Regions from separate parts of the Homo sapiens genome. Here regions 1, 2, 4 and 5 are each linked to region 3. Evidence: promoter capture Hi-C in 16 types of primary human blood cells and fetal thymus (Javierre and others, 2016). All regions are on one chromosome and are shown on one strand. The core of a region is centred on a gene start or on the middle of the fragment in contact, and the rest is flanking DNA. Distances in the headings are between cores, read along the strand shown.

What was found. Contacts are between HindIII fragments. The CHiCAGO score rates a contact against its expected background, and 5 or more counts as called.
Region 1: a fragment that was not itself captured here is called in contact with the fragment with the promoter of PREPL in region 3 in 1 of 17 cell types (neutrophils); the score reaches 9.1 in neutrophils.
Region 2: a fragment that was not itself captured here is called in contact with the fragment with the promoter of PREPL in region 3 in 5 of 17 cell types (activated CD4 T cells, non-activated CD4 T cells, total CD8 T cells and 2 more); the score reaches 8.9 in activated CD4 T cells.
Region 4: a contact is called between a fragment that was not itself captured here and the fragment with the promoter of PREPL in region 3, in 7 of 17 cell types (naive CD4 T cells, monocytes, activated CD4 T cells and 4 more). The highest score is 10.5, in naive CD4 T cells.
Region 5: a contact is called between a fragment that was not itself captured here and the fragment with the promoter of PREPL in region 3, in 1 of 17 cell types (monocytes). The highest score is 6.2, in monocytes.

The regions. Positions count from the first base shown.
Region 1 is chr2:45,644,758-45,649,212 of GRCh38, reverse strand. LOC102724965 (a long non-coding RNA gene) reads left to right here. Exons shown (of 2, transcript XR_005647119.2): 2 at 1-486. Among named protein-coding and RNA genes, the nearest start is that of PRKCE, 4.7 kb to the left of the region's middle. The HindIII fragment of the contact is 810 bases long and covers 1,960-2,769 here.
Region 2 is chr2:42,810,154-42,814,200 of GRCh38, reverse strand. It overlaps TRI-TAT2-1 (tRNA-Ile (anticodon TAT) 2-1), which reads right to left and starts at 3,665; the gene lies at 3,573-3,665. RefSeq lists enhancers at 2,722-2,801, 2,832-2,931 and silencers at 3,012-3,301, 3,592-4,047. The HindIII fragment of the contact is 2,540 bases long and covers 210-2,749 here.
Region 3 is chr2:44,359,194-44,363,039 of GRCh38, reverse strand. PREPL (prolyl endopeptidase like) reads left to right here and starts at 1,546. Exons shown (of 14, transcript NM_001171613.2): 1 at 1,546-1,660. It overlaps CAMKMT (calmodulin-lysine N-methyltransferase), which reads right to left and starts at 1,093. Exons shown (of 11, transcript NM_024766.5): 1 at 895-1,093. The coding sequence starts at 1,032. RefSeq lists enhancers at 386-1,279, 998-1,467, 704-1,903, 1,280-2,174. The HindIII fragment of the contact is 3,162 bases long and covers 196-3,357 here.
Region 4 is chr2:45,562,002-45,565,950 of GRCh38, reverse strand. It overlaps SRBD1 (S1 RNA binding domain 1), which reads left to right. Exons shown (of 21, transcript NM_018079.5): 10 at 3,195-3,298. Among named protein-coding and RNA genes, the nearest start is that of SRBD1, 47 kb to the left of the region's middle. The HindIII fragment of the contact is 5,234 bases long and covers 1-3,949 here.
Region 5 is chr2:45,579,576-45,584,084 of GRCh38, reverse strand. It overlaps SRBD1 (S1 RNA binding domain 1), which reads left to right. Exons shown (of 21, transcript NM_018079.5): 6 at 2,275-2,392; 7 at 4,072-4,210. Among named protein-coding and RNA genes, the nearest start is that of SRBD1, 29 kb to the left of the region's middle. The HindIII fragment of the contact is 2,593 bases long and covers 74-2,666 here.

The DNA of each region.
Region 1 (4,455 bases), core at 1,115-3,614, 1.3 Mb before region 3:
ATGTGAGAATCCAGAATGGACACAATATCCACATTTTAAATAATTTTAAATATTGCACTAAAATATTTATACTACTGAGTTTATTGGCACCTGTTAAATTTTGTACCTGAGCCGAGTGCGTCACTCATCTCACCCTAGTCCTGATCCTGTTGGGAAGTCTGGAAAGTCAAGGATTTCATGGAGTTAGGGATCCTTGACTAATTGGTGCTTCATATGTTCTCATTACTTGCTTTGGGTAAGTCTTGTACAGGCAGGAGCCACCATGCCCAGCCCCCAAATATATTAAATAGGGTCTGTTACCATCTCAGTGACTGTCTTAAAACAACCTACAAACTTCCAGCACCATTTCCTAGCATGCTGGCTCAGCAGACTGTTACTCCGTGTAAATCACCAGACTGCAATTCTCAAGGGCGACCAATGCTTGTCTCCTTTCCATTACAGCAACTCTTTTGGAGCAAGGGTAATAAAAGACTTTGTCAAACAAAATACATGTTTTGTATTGGATTAATGTTTACATAAAAAGGGAGAATGCTGGTAGTCTGCATGCAAACACTGCTAGTTTCCTGCCCTTATTACCTCCTTATTTCTAAATAAATCTCTCGCCTTCCTACTCTCAAACTTGGCCAAATGAAAAGTTGAATTCCCCAGGGACATCATGGAGATGCCAGGTCCAAAATAACCCCCTGCTCCAGGTTTCATGTGAAAAGAAAATCCCAAGGAGGGGGCTTAGACGGTAAAATTCCAATAGGAAATTATTGCCAGCTTCATCCTTCCCTCAGCCCCTGTCTCCAATCCCAAAGGATAAGACAGTGGTTAGCATATACATTGAGTAAAATGACCTTTGGATTCCAACTATGGCCTAGTTATTTCATAATCTTTGTGAGAAGGAAGAAAATGATACAATAATTTAACAAAGATGACCAAAATGGAGCCTTTCTCCTTTCAAAATTAAGGCTTATGAGAAAAGAATAGAACAACAGATGTGGCCAGGACAGGGCGATCAGTGTTGCAATAGGTCTATGGATGGGAGTGGCACAGAAGAAGGATCACCCCTTTGCCTGGGGAGCCTGGGAAGGCATCAACCAGCAGAATCCTTTGAGCTGAGTCTAGGCTTTCCAACAGGAGTTCTTCCAGCAGCAAAGAGGGAAGGGAAGGGTACTGGCTGCAAAAAGTATAATGTGTACAGGTAGGAAAGCCATGACTCTTCAGGTAAGCGGCCAGGTGTGCCCCACTTGTGGCAGGTAGTAACAGGAGATGAAGTAAGTAGGAACCTGATAGTTAAGACCTCAGAGGGCCTGCAGATGGGTCTCAACTTTTTCCTGGAGAGACACCAAACATTCCAGCGGGCAAGCAGCATAACTAGAGTTAATACTTTACAAAGGCGATTTTGTGATGGATAAATATTTTTCTCTTCTGTAATTTTCCTCCAGAAGGCTCACCTCAAAACAGGGTATTAGACAAAGAGAAGATCCAAGTCTGAAGATGATTTACACTCTGTATAATCAAAATTGAAACTGTCTGTGGATACTGTTTAGATCAGCTGGAGGAAGCGGGGAAGGGGGAGCCAGAACCGTAGACTAGCGCGTTAATATTCATGTCCCTGTTGCTGTGCTGGTTGTTGCCATTTATAGAATGTTAATGGGCTTCTGCAAAGGTCTGCCTGGTCAGGGTCTATCATACATTCCACACATGCTCCGCTGAACAGAATCCAACCACCTGGGCCATGGGATGGAACGCGCAGCAGTATAATGACACAGAAACCTTCTAGAGCTCCGCTGGTCCTGCCCCAGCCTAGCCCCCACCCGACCCTGAGCCCCACTTCAAACTTTGCCCCACACCTATACTCCTGTGGTGGGCTTTTGTCTGCCCTGCCATGTCTTCTTATTTTGGCCCCATCTCAGCTCCGAATTCTGGCCCCATCTCTGCTCTATATTCTGTTGCAGTGACTCAGGCCAAGCTTCACTTAATACCTGCAAAGAGGTGGAGGGATCAGAGGCAGCCCTATCGAGCTTGCTGATGGATGCAGAAGGAGATGGCCTGGTGCCCCTATTCCTCAGGGCCTGTGACTGTGAGCCCTACTCACTAGGATGCCATTTGGAGAATAGCATAACATTCTTCATCTTCTGTGGGTCAGATGTTGGGTTGTGTCTTGGGATTTTTTTTTTATAAGGGACAGAGTCTCACTCTGTTGACCAGGCTGGAGTACAGTGACACAATCACAGTTCACTGCAGCCTTGGCCTCCCAGACTTGAGCAATTCTCCCACCTCAGCCTCCTGAGTGGCTGGGACTAAAGCCATGTGCCACCATGCCCAGCTAAAGTTTTTTGATTGTTTTTGTAGAGATGGGGTCTCACTATGTTGCTCAAGCTGGTCTTGAACTCCTGGACTCTAGTGGTCCTCCTGCATCAGCCTCCCAAAGTGCTGGGATTACAAGTGTGAGCCACCGTGCCTGGCCCCTGTCTTGGACTTTTAAGATCATATGTCAATCCAAGGGTCTTTACTAAGTACTTGCTATATATAGGATACTAGGGCAGGTGCTCCAGGGAGGATAAATAGCTATATGGATAATCCCTACTCTACCTGGGGAGATGAGTAGATCAATTCAGTCGGTCCTTTATTTAACAGTCAGTAGTGTCATGTCATGTCATTTGGAGCACTAGGGAAACAAAAAATGACAACACAAAATGGCCCTTTATTAGTCAGGATTGGCTAGGTCATGCTGCTGTAATAAGCTCTCCCCAGATCCCAACACCTTAAAAGAACAAAGCTTTCTTCTCATGCATGCTGTAAGTCTATGGCAGGTTGGTTGGGAGCTCTGCTTCCCATTAGCGTCATTCTCACTTCTGGATCCAGGCTGGCTAAAAAGTTACCATCTGGAACATGGCTGGTCATGGGCAGAGAGAAAAAGGATGTCTGGAGGGTCTTACACAGGCAATTAAATAGTCCACCTGGTGGCTCATGCCTGTAATCCCAGCATTTTGGGAGGCCCTGGGTAGCAAAACCTCATCTCTACAAAATAAAATAAAATTAAATTAAATTAAAAAAACATAGCTGAGCATGGTGACGGGTGCCTGTAATCCCTGCTACCTGGGAGGCTGAGGTGGGAGAATTGCTTGAGGAGGCTGCAGTGAGCCAAGATTGTGACACTGCACTTCAGCCTAGGCAACAGAGCCAGACCCTGTCCCCCACCTGCCCCCCACCCAAAAAAATCCATCTGGAAGTGCTAAATATCATTTGTGCCCACTAATTGTTAGCTAGAACCAGTCTCAGATCCCGCCTTCCCCAACCACAGGGTCTGGGAAGTTCTACCATCTGTACTGTCAAGGAGCATGGAATGTTTGGTGAATAGCACTGAAGACTGCCATAGACACTATTCTCAAATGACAGGTGCAGAAAGGTAATTCAAGGTGGCACACAATAAATAACAAATAATCAGCCCACTCAGAAAGCACTATAGGAACTTAGGGTAGCAATAATCACAGTAAGAGTCAGACTGTTTGACCGTCCTCCCTCCCTTTTGCTCTGGGCCACTGCATACAGAAGACTCCAGATGACATGGAGAATCCTGCCTAATATCAGAACCAGCAGCCATCCAAGCTCCTTTCCCCTCCCCGTTATATGCTTAACACCTCATGGGACGTGCAGTTCCTTAAAGCCACTTTAGAACCACGGCAGCACAAAGGAGGCATTTGGGCCCAACAGAACTGAGAAGACTTACTTGTTAAACTCTGTGGGATTTGAGGGATCACTTGGTTTGTTTAATTAATTAATTAAGTTTTTGAAATGGAGTCTTGCTTTGTCACCCAGGCTGCAGTGCGGTGGCACACAATCTCGTCTCACTGCTGCAACCTCAACCTCCCAGATTCAAGCAATTCTCCTGCCTCAGCCTCCTAAGTAACTGAGATTATAGGCACACACCACCATGCCCAGCTAATTTTTGTATTTTTTTTTAGTACAGACAGGGTTTCACCATATTGGCCAGGCTGGTCTCAAACTCCTGACCTCAAGTGATCCACCTGTCTCAGCCTCCCAAAGTGCTGGGATTACAGGCATGAGACACTGCGCCCAGACTATATTCTTTATTGTTATTAAATTCCTCTATTAAATGAGGAAACTGATACCTAGAGAAGTTAACTGACTTGCCAAAAAAAAAAAAAAAAAAAAAAACAGAAAAAAAAACCCCAAAACACTACCTAGAGGTCTAGACCCAAATCTTATACCTTATACATTGACTGTTCTTTCTACATTGCCATGCCGGAACCAAGGCAGCACTATTTAATGATAATCATGTCAATTACATTTTAATTCCTTGGAAACATTTTTATAAACCTAAGGTCTAGATTTGTTTTAATTTATTGGCTCCAAATTAAACTAGCCTTAGCACAGTGCAATATAATAATTCTTTCAATAATAATCTATACTATAATAACATAATTCTCAAGGGAACTATGATGT
Region 2 (4,047 bases), core at 230-2,729, 1.5 Mb after region 3:
ATCTTATCATTTGTCAGAAACATTTGCCTCCAGATTGGCTCCACTCTTCTTCTAAATTCTACTGAATCTGCACTCCTTTCAGGCTGTGTCACCCCTAGCTCTGATGAGCCCTTCTTCATCCAAGCATTCTACAAAGCCAAGGTCAGCCTGGGTTACATCAGGTTTCTCTCCTGCTGGGGCCTGGGGTTGTTCAGTTGTCACTTCAAGCTTCCTTCGCAGTTTGGTCACTTCATACTTACCCACTTCCTTCTTGAAGCCACTACACAGTATAGTCAGGCCTAAGCCAGTGGTCTGATGCTAATAAAAATGTCATAATACTTTGTGGTTTTTAAAGCATTTTCCCATATTCTGACTTGATTTTTTTTTTTTTAATTGAGACAGAGTCACTCAGGCTGGAGTGCAGTGGTGCAATCTCAGCTCACTGCTGCCTCGACCTCTTGGGCTCAGGTGAGCCTCCCACCTCAGCCTCCCAAGTAGCTGAGACTACAGGCGTGCCTCATCACACTGGGTTAATTTTTGTATTTTTTGTAGAGACAGGGTTTCACCATGTTGCCCAGGCTGGTCTGGAACTCCTGGGCTCAAACAATCCTTCTGCCTCAGCCTCCCAAAGTGTTGGAATTACGGTGTGAGCCACCATGCCCTGCCTCACTTGATTTTTATCACCCACCACAACCTTAAAAAATTCTATCAACATCACTTTAAGACACTGGGCCACAAATAGGCTCAGAGTATGTTTGTTGTTTATGGCCTAATCAATAATTTCGTAGCTGAAGATTTCTAAATTAAGGAAAGAAGAACTAGTTTAGCTTCCTTCCAACCCTACCATCTTATCAGGAAAACAGTTCCTAAAGCCACTGCCATTCCAGCAGTAACCAGTAGGGACAGAAACAATATTGAAGAATGTTCTAACCATAAGAGTTGTTGGAAAATGGAATAAGTTGCCTTGAGAGGAACTGAAATTCTGATGCTAGCAGTTTTCAAATAGGAGCTAGGGTTTTGTGGAAAGGATTTCTCTGTGGATAGGAGGTTGACAGAATGATCTCTCATTCATTTATTGTTGTCTGTTTGGGATCTTGCTTTGAGCTCAGCTCTCAGAAGTACCTAAGAGACTCCTGGTGGTCAGTGAGTTACCTGTGAAGATTAGAAACCTGCACTTTCTGAGTCTGATCACTTTTCTGTTTGTGCATTTTAAAATTAATCACCTCTTACAAAGCAGTTTTTGGCAAATTTCCTTTTGAAAATGCCAACCCTTTCTCCATTATTCAAAAATGGAAAGAATCCATACAATGGACTGTCATACAGTCATAAAAAGAAATGAAGCACTGATATATGGTACAATATGGATGAATATTGAAAACATTATAAAGTGAAAAAGCCAATTACAAAAGACCACATGCTGTATAATTCCATTCGTAGGAAAGTCCAGACTAGGGAAATCTACAGAGACAAAAAGTGGATTTGTGGTTGCTTAGGGCTGGTGGGGGAACAGGATGGGAAGATGAGAGGGTGAGAACTAGTCTTGAGGTGATGAAAATGTTTGAAAATTTACTGTGGTGATGATTGTACTTATCTGTGAATATACTAAAATCCATTGTACACTGTAAAATGGGCGAGTTGTATGGTATAGGAATTATATCCCATTAAAGCTGTTGGGTTTTTTGTTTTTTTTTTTATAGAAAGTAAGCATACTTTTTTTTTTTTTTTTTTTTTTTTTTTGAGACGGAGTCTCGCTGTGTCGCCCAGGCTGGAGTGCAGTGGCGCGATCTCGGCTCACTGCAATTTCCGCCTCCCAGGTTCAAGCAATTCTCCTGCCTCAGCCTCCCGAGTAGCTGGGATTACAGGCGCACGCCACCACAGCCGGCTAATTTTTTGTATTTTTAGTAGAGGCGGGGTTTCACAGTGCTAGCCAGGATGGTCTCCTGACCTCGTGATCCGCCCGCCTTGGCCTCCCAAAGTGCTGGGATTACAGGCGTGAGCCACCACGCTCAGCCGCAAGTTTTTTTTGTTTTGTTTTGTTTTGTTTTGTTTTTTTAGACAGGTCTGGCCCAGGCTGGAGCAGTGGTGCCATCTCAGCTCACTACAACCTCGGCCTCTCGAATCCAAGAGATCCTCTCACCTCAGCCTCCCGAGTAGCTGGGATTACAGGTATGCGCCACCACACCCGGCTAATTTTTGTATTTTTAGTAGATACGGGGTTTCGCCCTGATGGCCAGGCTGGTCTTAAACTCCTGGGTGATTAAAAAAAAAAAAAAATCCGCCGACCTTAGCCTCCCAAGCCGGGATTACAGGCGTGAGCCACCGCGCCTATTTTTTTATTATTATTATTATTCTTTTTTAATGGATAGAGATTTTATTTGTTTCTAAGCCTGGGCTGCATTTCTACAGGGGACCTATCCCATGCCTCTGAGGATGTCTGTGAGCCAGAGGCGACCTCCCCGGGGCTGGCGAGGAACCCGGCACCAGGACGAGGGGAAGTGGGCGGCCCTTCCCACATTCCAGTTGGCATAGGGTTCCTGTTCTGCATCGAGGGGCTGGATGGGTGAGAGCAACCGAAGCCTGGGCTAGCGCAGGAGATAGACAAGAGCTCCGCCCTCCATCCATTTCTCTGAACGTTCTAGGTCTTGATTTTCACCACTCGCGGGGTAATATTTCCACCCAAAATCTAGCAACGATCCCGTCCATGAAAACAGCTGAAAATCTCCCCTTTGAAAGAACACGTCCAGGAGGCTTTCCATCCCTTAACTAAGCTTGTGCCCGCTTTGCCTACCCCCCCTGGCGATGTGGGGCAGGGCGCATCCGCCGGCGACCACTTGGCCTGATTTCCCGGCCCCCGGGAGGACTTCTGAACCAGGATTTGTGACGTGCCGCTAGGAGAAGGGGCACATGATGGGGAGGGGAACTCTCCGAGCACATTCCCCAAACTGCAAATCTGCCCAGGGACGGCTGGGCGCCTGGGTTGAGGAGAAGGGCCCGCAGTCTTATTGGTCTCTGCAGACAGAAGCGAGGGGGAAGAACTCATCACGAGTTACAAGGGCGGAAAACAGCCGCCCCAGGTCTCCCCACAGCTCCCCGGACGCCCCGCGCTAGGCCTCGGGCCCCAACGCCTGGGAATGGTCGGCGGTGCTTGGGCCCCGCCCGGGGGCGAGGGGCAGCGGCCCGGCCCCAGGCCTCATCTCCGCACCGGGAGCTCGGGCTCACACTGTAGAATGAAGTGCCCTGTAGAATATTCGATCCCCACGGCCAGCTAGGGACCCCGCCACAGTGGAGCGCCTCGCCACCTCCATCCGCCCTCCTGTGGTCCGGGACTAGGTGCAGTTACAGGACCCGCCTAAGAAGAGCACTAGAAGGACGCAGTGGGTGGATGTCCGAGTTCGAGCGGCTGGATGTCGCGCGGTGGCAACAAGTAGCTCGGAAAAGGGGTATTGAGAGTCCACTGCGAGCTGCTTCCTGCTTGCGGCCAATGGGGACGTGCGGCAGAGCAGTTAGAAACAAGAAGGGAGAAGACTAAAGAGAGACTCCTTACTTCTGGCAACGAGATACACAAAAGGGGTTGCGAACATCCAAAAGGGTCTTGCTCCAGGTGAGGCTCGAACTCACAACCTCGGCATTGCTCTGCATGTACTGCTGTATAAGTACCGCGCGCTAACCGATTGCGCCACTGGAGCTCTGCTGAATGGGCCTCGTGATGGCTCTATCAGGGTGCGCTGGCGCCCGCGGCGGGCCTCGGCAGAGCATGCGCGTTCGCGGCGCGAGCCCAGGCCCGAGCCTTCTGCGACTTCGCGCCGAGCTCCCGGCTGTTCCGCAGCCGATCGAGCCGGGGAAGCCTGCGAGTGTCGCCCTCGGGGATGGAGGGGCCGCCTAGCCTGGCCGTGACGGGAGGGCCACGGGGGCCCTGCAAAGAGCGCAGCGCGCAGCCCCGGGCCTCGCCGTAGGAGGAGCGGCCCCAGCGCCTGCGGCCGGAAAACCCCCTCTATGGGCTTCGCGTCCCGGAGCCGGCCCGCGAGGGGCAGGGCCCAGGCCGGGGAAGCGGCAGGCGGGCCTCGCCGC
Region 3 (3,846 bases), core at 297-2,796:
GTAAAGTGGCAATAGCTGGGAAACTCTTTTCCAAACACAACTGTCAGAAATGGAAAAATGTCCTCCTGAGTAAAGTTTTCGGCAGAAAACTTCAGGCAGAGGCATAACACTGCTATGCAAAAACAATAACCAGACTTCACTTCAAGAAGTGAGCGAAGAATGTGAGTGATCATAAATCAGAACTTCCGTCAAGCTTGCACGAGTGGAGTTGTAAGTAACAGCAGAAACTTTGAAGTACCAGAAGATACCATCATTCAAAAACGAACACACTTTGACTAGCCCACCTTGGACACGGAGAATCTCGCTGATCACTACAAACTACAAGATAATCATTTAACTTTGAGACCTCAGTGAGAGAGGGTATCAGCTTTTCCTACTCCTTGCACGCTCCGCTGTACGGAAGATGCCGAGGGAACGCATGCCGTGTCTCAGTCCCGGCATAGTCAACCACGCTGGGCAAAAGACGGGGCCAGAGGGTGCAGACGAATATCGGTAACTCGAACCAGGCTGGGAGTTAAGCTAGAAGAAACTGGGGAAGGAGGCAAAACAGAAGCAGGAAAAGAGCAGTGGGGAGCGGCGGGCGCACCAGAGACTGGCGAGAAGGGGAAAAGTCCCCCAGACGCACAAAAATGTCTAGAAGGGGTTCTTCTACTTCGATCTGAGTTTCCCAGGAGCTCAGCCTTGGCTGTCCCGCTCCCCACCCAACCCCACATGATTCCTCCTCTTGGATGGGACGCTTAGGTGAAGCGAGGGGGAGCTTCGCAGGTGGCTCCCGGCAAACTGAGAAGGGTCTCCCAGAGCTGCCAAGAGGAAAGAACTGCGAACAGTCGCTCCCCCGGTACGTGAGAGAGGAGTGACCAGAGGCAAAGGTGAGGCGAGCAGGTTCTCCCTTACCTGCCGCAGGAGCTTCCACCGGGCGGCTCCCAGGGGCGCCGAGACTACGGGCCCCCGAGTGGTGCAGCCAACTGCCGGACTCCCGCCCGCTGCTCGCGCGGTCTCGCCGGTCCCAGCGTCCGCGACTCGCGACTCCATCTCACTGGAGCCTTCCACACCCGGAGGTGCCACCGCCGCAGCTCGTCCCCTGCCAGGACCTGCCAACTTCTTCCCTGTCAGGACCTGTGACGCCCGGCACCCTCCCTCCACCGGACCAGGCATGCGCGCTCTCCCCGAATTCCGCATTTCCGGTACTCGCATCTCCTTGGCAACCAGGGCCGAGCTGTCACGCCATTGCACCATTCTTGCTGGTAGCCATCTTGAGTGAGGGCGGACCAGAGGATGAGAGAGCTGTGGCAGGGCTACTGGAACGCTGTCCCTCATTGTTTTAGCCTTCTGTGCTTCATCTCGAGCTCAGAAGACTAGCGAAGAACGAAAAGTCTTATATATTTCGAGACTAAAGAACCCAGGAACCCAAGAAGACTCCTTGACCACAACAAAGATGGCGAAATCTGCCTGTTGCTCGTGCTAGATTGAGGTTACGTAGATTGGCGTGCTGCAAACCAGCTCTAGGCGGCTCTGGGTAAGTTGTCGTTCTGTGGGCTGCGGAACGCAGACTTCGGCTGGACTTGCCTGCGGTGACACCTGCTCCCCTCTGAGAGCTTCAGGTTCTCCGGCCTGCCTTCACTGGTTTGTGTCCAGAGCCGGACTGATTCTCTCAATTTGCGTATGTATGGGGGGTGTGCTGGTCTCTTTCCTTCTCCCCTTTCTCCCCCCGCCCAGCCACCCACCCCTCAGTCCCCAGGTCCTCGCTTTTTGACTAATGTCCCGGCACTGCGTGCGTGTCACCTGGTCCCTCTCCCTGTTGCATTCAGATCGCCTCATCCCTGGGGTGGAGAGTTGCACGGGGTAAACGAATAGGTTCTCCTGAGAACACCCATTTATCTACCCCACCCCCATCCTAGCCTTGCATACTGTCTTCTTGGGGATGAAAGATGGATGGATAAAGGCTGTGGGAACGTGGTGATGTAGGACCTTTGCAGGTCCTTGTTATTCGGGTCTTTTTTCCCCTTTTTTTACTAGTGTCGGCTAGTAAACTAGTGTTGCTCCCCTACCCCCAATCGCCCATTATTTTGCTGCGACATGGAAAGGGATTAAGGGGGGCGGGGGCGTCGTAGCGCATCTGATCTATGGTAAATTTGACGCAGCATTCTACCTTTGATACCAGGGGGCATTTTGTGGAAGACTTCCATAATGACATTCAGCGGTGTGCAACATACCTAGATTATTCCTGTCGTAAATAATAGCAACTGCCATTTATTGAGTGGTCACTATGTGCCAGGCACTGTATGGTCTTAATGTTAAGCTGTCTCATTTTGTCTTTACAACAACAACCCTAGAAGGTAAATGGTGTCATTTCATTTTTGCAGATGAAGAAACTGAGGCCCGGAGACACAGTTAAGTGTAGGAGCTAAGACCTCAACCCAGGTCTCTCTGACTCTTAACTACTTATTAGCAATCAAGGTTAATAAAAGCTACCTCCTGACAAACCAGAGATGGCCTTACATTTTATTTGTGCATCTTGCAGGGGTTTTTTGTTGTTTTTAATTAAAGCGCTAAATACCTTTTTAACATTAAAAATCCGAAGTTGAGTATGTCCAGTATTTGGAACCGAACCAAATTGGATTTTTTGCTATACAGCTTACTGTACAAGTGACCTGGAACAGTTGCTTAGAACCTCCCACAGCCACAGTTTGGCAACCTGTAAAATGTGCATGGTAATATCTACTTTATTAAGTCCATATAAAATTTAAATTAGACAAACAAGATAAAAGCACCTGGCAGTTAGTTAACACTCAACAATAATTAATCTTCCCTCCCCCACCTTTATTAAATAATTAGGCTTTTCCAGTTTATCTTCCACATATATACCAAAGATACGTTCATAATTATGTAAGACCAAAGGGCTTTTTACCTTTTACAGCCCTGAGTTCCTGAGATACCCCATTAAGTCTGTGTACTTATTTGCAAATTTATATTTTGTTTCTTGTTTTGTTTTTTGTTTTAGTTTAACCCCTATGTGTGCCAGAGTCAGTGCTGCATAGTTTGAGCCTGATAGGATTAACTTTACAAATGAGACATTTAAGTCACATCTGCCAAGAATTATGATTTGAATGAAACTTTAACTTACACAGGTTTTTAGATTTAGTTAGCCTAAGTTATCAGCTGTCTGAAGTTATTCATAACCTAAGTGGGGCATGGCCCTGAAAAGGAGGGATGAGAACTGCTGATCTTAGTTACTCTGAGAACCCACTACTCTGTAATCATACCTATAAAATCATTCGTGTGCTGGCAGCCCCAAAAGGAGCATAAACCAGGGACTTTGATATCATGCAGCAGAAGACCAAATTATTTCTCCAAGCTTTGAAGTATAGTATTCCTCACCTTGGAAAATGCATGCAGAAACAGCATTTGAATCACTATAACTTCGCTGATCATTGTTACAATAGAATAAAATTGAAAAAATATCACCTAACCAAGTGTCTTCAGAATAAACCCAAGATATCAGAGTTAGCAAGAAACATCCCAAGTCGGAGCTTCTCATGTAAGGTATGGACTGTTTAAGTTAACCTATTTGTAGGTCATTAAGATTAATTTTAATTTAAAAATAAAGAATGGGTAGAATATCAGAGCTACTAATTTTCTCAGTAATTCTAACTTGATTTTTCTAATTTTCAAGTCTCAATTGTCTCTAGTCAAAAGTAAGTATAAAAGAGTATATACATCGAGGCAGGCAGATCACCTGAGGTCAGGAGTTCGAGACCAGCCTGGCCAACATGGTAAAACCCTGTCTCTACTAAAAATACAAAAGTTAGCTAGGCGTCATGGCACCCACCTGTAATCCCAGCTACT
Region 4 (3,949 bases), core at 272-2,771, 1.2 Mb before region 3:
TTTTGTACATTTTAAATTGGGTTGTGGCCAGGCGCGATGGCTCACGCCTATAATCCAAGCACTTTGGGAGGTTGAGGCAGGCGGATCGCCTGAGGTCAGGAGTTCGAGACCAGCCTGGCCAACATGGTGAAACCCCATCTCTTAAGAAAATAAATAAATGAATAAATTGGGTTTTGTCTCCTTATTGTTGAGCTGTAGGAGTTTTAAATATATTCTAGATACCCTTATGTGACATATGATTTGCAAAAATTTTTGTCCCATGCCGTGCATTTTCTTTTCACTTTCTTGATACTATTCTTTGAGGCACAAAAACTAAAATTTGTTGAAGTTCAATCTAGTTTTTTGTTATTGATTACACTTTTGGTGTTATATCTAAGAAGGCTTTATGACTTGAGGTCATAAAAATTTTCTCCTTTTTTAATGGAAATTTTATAGTTTTAGTTCTTGTATTAAGGTCTAAGATCAATTTTGAGTTAATTTTTATGTATAGCGTGAAGTAGGGGTCCGTCCACTTTTGTTCTTTTGCATGTGGTGAGTTCTAGTTATTCATGATTTATTGAAAAGATTGGATTTTCTTCATTGAATTATCTTGGTACCCTTGTTGAAAATCAGTTGACACTATATGTATAAGTTTATTTCTGGACTCCGATTCTATTCCATTGTATGTCTATCCTTATGCCAGTCCCCACTGTCTTGATAACTGTGGCTTTGTAGTCAGTTTTGAAATTGGGAAGTGGGAATCTTCCAAGTTTATTTTGATTTTTAAAAATTGACTTGGCTATTCTCAGTCCTTTGAATTACTATATGTGTTTTAAAATTAGTTCACCAGTTTCCACAAAACATGCCAATTGGGATTTGATAGGGATTTCACTGAATTTGTAAATCAACTTGGGGAGTGTTGCCATCTTAGCAATATTAGGCCCTCTGATCCCTGAACATGGGATGTTCATGGGTATTTATTTAGATCTTCTTTAATTTCTTTCAACAATGTTTTGTAGTTTTCATAGTACAGTTGTTCCTTGGTATATACAGGAGATTGATTCCAGGATCCCTGCATATACCCAAATCTATGTATATGCAAGTCCCAGAGTTGGCCCTGCAGAACCCATGTATATGAAAAATCAGCTCTCCTTATGCGTGGGTTTCAGATCCTGCAATTACTGTATTTTCAATCCCTGTTTGGTTGAAAAAAATCCACGTGTAAGTCAACACATGCAGTTTAAACCTGTATTGTTCAAAGGTCAACCGTGTAAGTTGTGAACTTTTTTTGTTAAATTTATTCCTAAGTATTTTATTCCTTTTGGTGGTATCATAAATGGAATTAAAAAAAATTATTTTCAGAATGTTTATTGCTAGTATGTATAAATTAATTTTATTTGTTGAGCTTGTGTTCTGCAACTTTGCTGAACTCTTTATTAGTTCTAATAGTTTTGTAGTGGATTGCTTAGAATTTTCTATATATAAGATCATGTTAGCTGCAAATAGAGAAAGTTTTACATCTTCCTTTCCAATATAGATGGCCTCCCTTCTTTTCCCTGGCTAGAACCTTCAGTACAATGTTGTGAGAGTGGACACGCTTGTCTTGTTCCTGGTCTTTGACCAGTAAATATGATGTTAGCTGTGAGATTTCTGTGCACAAGCCCTTTCTCATATTAAAGAACTTTCCTTATATTTCCAAGTTTTTTGAGTGTTTTTTATCATGAAGGGCTACCTGATTTTGTCAGATGTTTTTCCACATCTATTGAGATGATCATAGGATTTTTGTTATTTATTCTATTGATATAATGTGTTAGGTTAATTGATTTTTTAGATGTTAAATCAACCGGGCATTCCTGGAATTGATTCTAGTTGATCTTGGTGTATAATCCTTCTTATATATTTCTGGATGTGGTTTGCTATTACTTTATTGAGGATTTTTACATCTATATTCATAAGAGATATTGGTTTGTAGTTTTCTTGTGAAGTCTTGTCTGGTTTTTGTATCAGAGTAATACTGGCCTCATAGAAATATATGTGAAGTTTTTCCTTCTCTAATATCTTTTGGAAAGTTTGTGAAGAATGGATATTGATTCTTTTTAGAATGTTTGGTAGAATTCAATGGTGGTGCCATCTGGGCCTGGACATTTATTTGTGGGAAATTTTCAAATTACTAATTCAGTGTCCATACTTTTTATAGGTGTGTTCAGATTTTCTGTTTCTTTTTGGTTTGTTTTTGGTAGTTTGTATCTTTTAGGAATTTGTCCATTTTATCTTAGTTATCTAATTTGTCATACAGTTGCTCATGGTATCTCTTATAATCTTTTTTATTTCTATAAGGTCCTTAGTAGTGGCCTCTCTTTTGTTCCTGATCTTGGTGTTTGAGTGTTTCCTGTTGTTTTTCTTGATTAGTCTAGCGAAAGGTCTGTTAATTTTGTTGATATCTTCAAAGAACCAACTTATGGTTTTGTTGATATTTATTGCTTTTCTATTCTCTATTTTATTTTTACCCTATTATTTATTATTTTCTTCTGCTTGTTTTGGTTTTGTTTATACTTTAAGGAGTGTTTTTAATGTGTTTTAAGACAGTCGTTCTTTTAATATTTTAATTAAGAGCATGGACAGATTGATCTGAAGTTTAAATTCTTTTTTTGCTACTTGCTAGCTTTGTGATTTGCAACAAGTTAGTTTCAGAAAAATTATTATATAAAGTGAAGATAATACACACATTACTGGTGACTCTAAGGATTACTTGAGATAATATATTTAAAGTGCTTAGATAGGCTCTACAATTAGTAATGCTCAATGGATGGTAACAATTTGTAGCTACTAAATATTGCACCTAGGATTTTACATGTTTGTATTTATCTTAGCACAGGTTATCTTTTCAAATTATAAAAAGTATACCCTTCCAACTCCAGATAATCAAAAATTTTCAATTAGTAGAATCTGAAATGAGATTTTTAGATCATCAAAGTCTCTTCTTGTAAATGTGTTAGATAGGCTTTGTATCTGCATTTTATTTTCTAAGAGCATGTTAGGGTTTTCCTTATGTGGGAGGTATGTTACTTGAAAAAAGTGTAAGTAAATGATTATTTTAAAATGTATTCTTGTTTAATAAACGAGTAAAAAATTCATATAGCTGTCAGCTACATAGTCGCCTGATTTGTTTCATATATTTTGTGGATTATTAGTCTTTGCCTTATGTTTGCACTCAGATTCTGGCAATTAACCGTGGAGAAAATTTGAAGGTACTGACGGTTAAGGTCAATATTTCTGATGGAGTGAAGGATGAATTCTGTAGGTGGTGCATCCAAAACAGGTCTGTTTACAGATATTTACAGAATTTTCTTTGTTTCTTTTCTAAAATATGATACCGATATCTATATGTACTGATATGTAAAGATGTCTATTACGTGAACATTTTTAAAAAGCCAGTGACAGGCCGGGCGCGGTGGCTCACGCCTGTAATCCCAGCACTTTCGGAGGCTGAGGGGGGTGGATCGCGAGGTCAGGAGTTCAATATGAGCCTGGCCAAGATGGTGAAACCCTGTCTCTACTGAAAATACAAAAACAAAAAATTAGCTGGGCATGGTGGTGCACACCTGTAATCCCCGCTACTTAGGAGGCTGAGGCAGAGAATTGCTTGAACCCAAGAGGCTGAGGTTGCAGTGAGCCGAGATCACACCACTGCACTCCAGCCTGGGCGACAGAGCAAGACTCCATCTCAAGAAAACAAACAAACAAACAAAAAACCCACCAATAACAGACAAGGTATGTAGTGTCCTTTTTGAATTAAAAAAAATAATAAAATAAGTATGTGTGTCATGCATATTTAAACAGAGAATATCCAGGAGGGTGTGTGAGGAATTTTTGATAGTGATTATCTCTGTGGAGAAGAACTGTTTTACTTCATTACTTTTCTGTACTATTTGAAACTTTTGTAAGATCATCTTTTCCCTTGCAAAAATAA
Region 5 (4,509 bases), core at 121-2,620, 1.2 Mb before region 3:
AAGGCAAGGTAATTAAGAAAGTCTGAGGGTTTTGGATCTGAAATTGGAGAAAGCCTCACAAGCAAGAAAAGCTTGCTTAAAAAATTAAAGGGTAGTCTAACAATATTTGGTTGTATGGGAGACAAATAGGAGCTGTATATCAAGAATATTATTATTTTCTTTTTCTTTAAAAAACCCTTCTATTGCAAAAGAATTCCATTCTCTGGGTTTCTATGAATAGGGGAATACATTGAATATTAGTAGAGGAGTGAATATTCCTTGAAGTAAGTGGGGGCATTGACTGGAACTTAAGAGATCTTTTTCTATAATACAGAAATTTCTTTCTGGTAATGAGATATGATCTTTATTTTTTCTTGAGCTCAGCATTTTCTATAACTAGAGCATTGATTTTCAATTTGTTAATTGCTACCCCTACATGAGAAGTAAAACCAATTTAATAAGTCATACCACTTAAAAAATGAAATAGTGAATAGAAAATACAAGAGTACATTTATGTGGTAAAGGCAAATATTGTTTCATGAAATGTTTCAATTATGTAGCATCTATATGTATGTATACTGGGTTGCAACGTAAAACATTTTTAAATTCACTGTTGAAAAGTGAATTAAAGAGTATGATTCTGGATAGTAAGAAAAGTTTTCTGTATTTTTCTCTAAAGATAATTCTCTTCTTCCTTATATGCAGGCTAATAGGACAAAAGGAATTGGCTTTTTGTTAAAATGACCTGGTAGGCTTTAGCCCTTGAAAACAGTCTTGGGCTACCATGACTATAGAAGACATACAGGTTGTAATCTAAGTACTGCATATTCTTCTTTTTAATTTATATTCTTCTCTTTAATTTATAGTCTTCTGCCTTTAGTTTTTTTTTTTTAATTTACAAGTAGATTTAATTTTCTTTTCCATCGATCATTTTGAATAAATCATATTATCATCTCTAACTTTTGCCCATCATTTTAGCAATACCATTATTAGGCAGATTCTATAAATAGGAGGTAATACAATAGGATGAGAAGCATTAACTGTAACAACAGGATTGTATATTCACAGTGAAAACCTGTTGTAAAGTGGGGGAACTACTGTGCCCACCCTTCCTTTTGTCGTTAGTTGTTTAGTGATCCCTGTAAATTGATTCCTGGAATCAACTTTTCTACATGGAATCCTGGTTCTTTTTAGTGGGGAATGGTATTTGGAAACCAATTATGGGTGCTAGGTGTGCCCATCCTGAGCAGTGATACTCCAGTAGCAATGAGCATATCTAGTACCTATACCTTGGTTTTTAAGTATCATTCTTCTGATTCCAGGGCTGGGGCAGGGAAACTAGAAGATAAGCCTGAAATATCATATGCCAGAGAATAAGGAAGTGCTCGCAGAATGACAGATACATGTCAAAAGGACACAGAAGCTAGCTTGAAGGGGTTACTTTTGGCCAAATCTGGAAAAATTTGAACATTAAGATAAATGATAGCAATGGATTGTAGCACTAAGTAAAATAAAAAACCATTAAATCTATAGTGATATAAATAAATCAGTGAATAAATTCAAAGTTTAATGAGGAATGGGATAATTATATAGTCTCAAAGTACCTCTCCACAAAATACTTATAATTACAAGAGGAATAAAGAGTACCTGTGTCTTGGAGAAACCCACAGATACTACCTTAATCAAATGATCAAAGTTAATTAGTAATGAGACAAATCAAAATCATTTGTCACCTAATAACGTGTAGTAAGAACACAGTATGACTTCTATGATATTTCTGCCAAAGATGCTCCATCGGTATTTAATTGTGAGGAAACATCAGAGAAACCCAAGCTGCAGGACATTCTACAAAATAACTGTCCAGTAGCGTTCAAAAACATCAAGGCCTTATCAAGGAGAAGAAAATCAAGGAGAGACTAAAATATTGTTTTAGCTTGAAGGAGACTGTAGTTGCATGCCAACTACATGTAACCCATAATTCTTAACTGAATCCACTATAAAGGATATTATTGGGACAGTTGGTAAAACCTGAATGAGCTCTGCATTAGATGGTAGTAATATATTAGTGTTAATTACCTGATAATGATGGTTATTTTGTGGTTATGTAGAAGATTTGTATTTGTAGGAAATCACACTAAAGTGTTGGAGTGCAGGGATGTTAACTTATTCTCAAACAGTTCAGAGACAATAAAGTTCCTTTTACTTTACCTGCAACTTTTCTGTAAGTTTGAGGTAGCTTTGAAAAGAAAGTTTTGACATACAGTTTTGGTATATTACAAAAGTTTCTCTTTTCAGGGCTGTTGCAAAGAAAGTTCATAGTACAATCCAGAAAATTAAGAAGGAAGGGAAGATGTCTGAGTGCTTGTTAAAAGCCATGCTGAATTGTAAAACTTTTGAAGAACTAGAACACGTGGTAAGGAATCCTTTTTATCTTTTAATGTAATACCTGAATATATTGCAATTTGGGTCTTCTTATGATTAAAGAACACCAAGAAATAAAAAGCTAACGTCATTAGCCACCATTATTTAATGCAACAAAATATTTATTCTTTATTCAATAAATATTTATAGAGTGTTTTTTTTGTGCTAGGCACTTGGGTTTACAAAGATGAATAAATACATAGTCTTTGTCTCAAGGAATTTCCAGTCAAGTAGGGAAGGACAGTAGATTATACAAACGTGAAGCTTATCAGAGAGGGCTGAACTAGAGATCCAGATGTGGATGTCTTCAGCCTGTAGTTGGTACGTGAAACCATGAGAATGGAAGAACTCAAGAAGTGTTTGTTAGCAGGTCAGGATTGACCACTGGAGGTTACCACCTTTTGAAGTGTGGATGGAGGATGTGAGAGCATAAGGAGGTAGGAAAAAAATAGAGAAGTATGAGGAGAATCAGGAGATGATGGTGCCCTGGAACAGCAGGGAAGAGAGTTTTAGATGGAGGTCATGATCAGCAGTTATGTGTAGCAGAGAAGTTTGGCAGAATGAAGACTGAAAAAAATATATATATTTGGTAATTAGGAGATCATCATGGATTTTTGTGATATCATTTCCTGCAAGGTATGTGAGAAGAGAAGCCAGATGATGGTGGGTTGGAGAGTGAGTGGATTAAGAAGTAGAAGAATTGGCTGGGCGCGGTGGCTCAAGCCTGTAATCCCAGCACTTTGGGAGGCCGAGGTGGGCTGATCACGATGTCAGGAGTTCAAGACCAGCCTGGCCAAGATGGTGAAACCCCGTCTCTACTAAAAATACAAAAATTAGCTGGGCGTGGTGGCGGGTGCCTGTAATCCCAGCTACTCAGGTGGCTGAGGCGGAGAATTGCTTGAACCCGGGAGTAGGAGGTTGCAGTGAGCTGAGATCGTGCCACTGCACTCCAGCCTGGGCTACAGGGCAAGACTCCATCTCAAAAAAAAAAAAAAAAAAAAAAAAAAAGAAGTAGAAGAATTGACCGGCCAGGTGCGGTGGCTCACGCCTGTAATCCCAGCACTTTGGGAGGCCGAGGCGGGCAGATCACGAGACCAAGAGATCAAGATCACCCTGGCCAACATGGTGAAACCCTGTCTCTACTAAAAATGCAAAAAAAAAAAAAAAAAAAAATAGCTGGACGTAGTGGTGCGCTCCTGTAGTCCCAGCTACCTGGGAGACTGAGGCAAGAGAATCACTTAAACCTGGGAGGCAGAGCTTGCAGTGAGCCGAGATCGCGCCACTGCACTCAGGCCTGGGCGAAAGAGCGAGAGTCCATCTCAAAAAAAAGAAAAAAACAAAAAAAACGAAGAAGTAGAATTATGTGTAGAACACTTTTAAAGGAGCTTGCTTGAGTTGAGGACTTTGCAGTCCAAGCAATGAGTTTTTAAGATGAGTGAAACCAAGCAACTAATTTAGCATATAGAAAAATATAAAGAATAAGATAAAGCACATACCATCTTCATACAGTAAAGCATTTTCAAATTAGTTTTAATTCATCTCTGAAGGAAGAGGAAAAGATTGAGAAAAGGATTTCTTTAGCATTCTCAGCATGTCCTCTAATTTTGTAACCTAGTTTTAACTTTTGTTTTTTTAAAACATAATCATATGTTTTCTGTCTTTATTTTCTAGTCTGCTCCATATAAAACTGGAAGCAAAGGGACTAAAGCCCAGAGAGCAAGACAGTTGGGCTTAGAAGGAGCAGCCAGGGCACTGCTTGAGAAACCAGGGGAGCTCAGTCTGCTATCGTACATTAGGCCTGACGTTAAAGGTACTGGCTTTATTTACAGAGATCAACTTTGTTTCTTTTTTTTTTTTTTTAATTTAAAAACGTATGTTAAAAAACTGTTTTGTTAAGTACTGATTATACAAAAGAATATTACAGCGTATGTAGAATAATTGAAATAAATCCTGACATACCTATTGAGTAGCCATTCAGCTTTTCTCTTTTGATGAAGTGCCTGTTCTAGTCTTTTGCCCGTTTTTCTATTGTATTGTTCTTTTTAAAATTATTATTTTAAAATAATTTTTGTCATTTATATGTGTTGCAAATCTTTTTTCCCAGTTTGT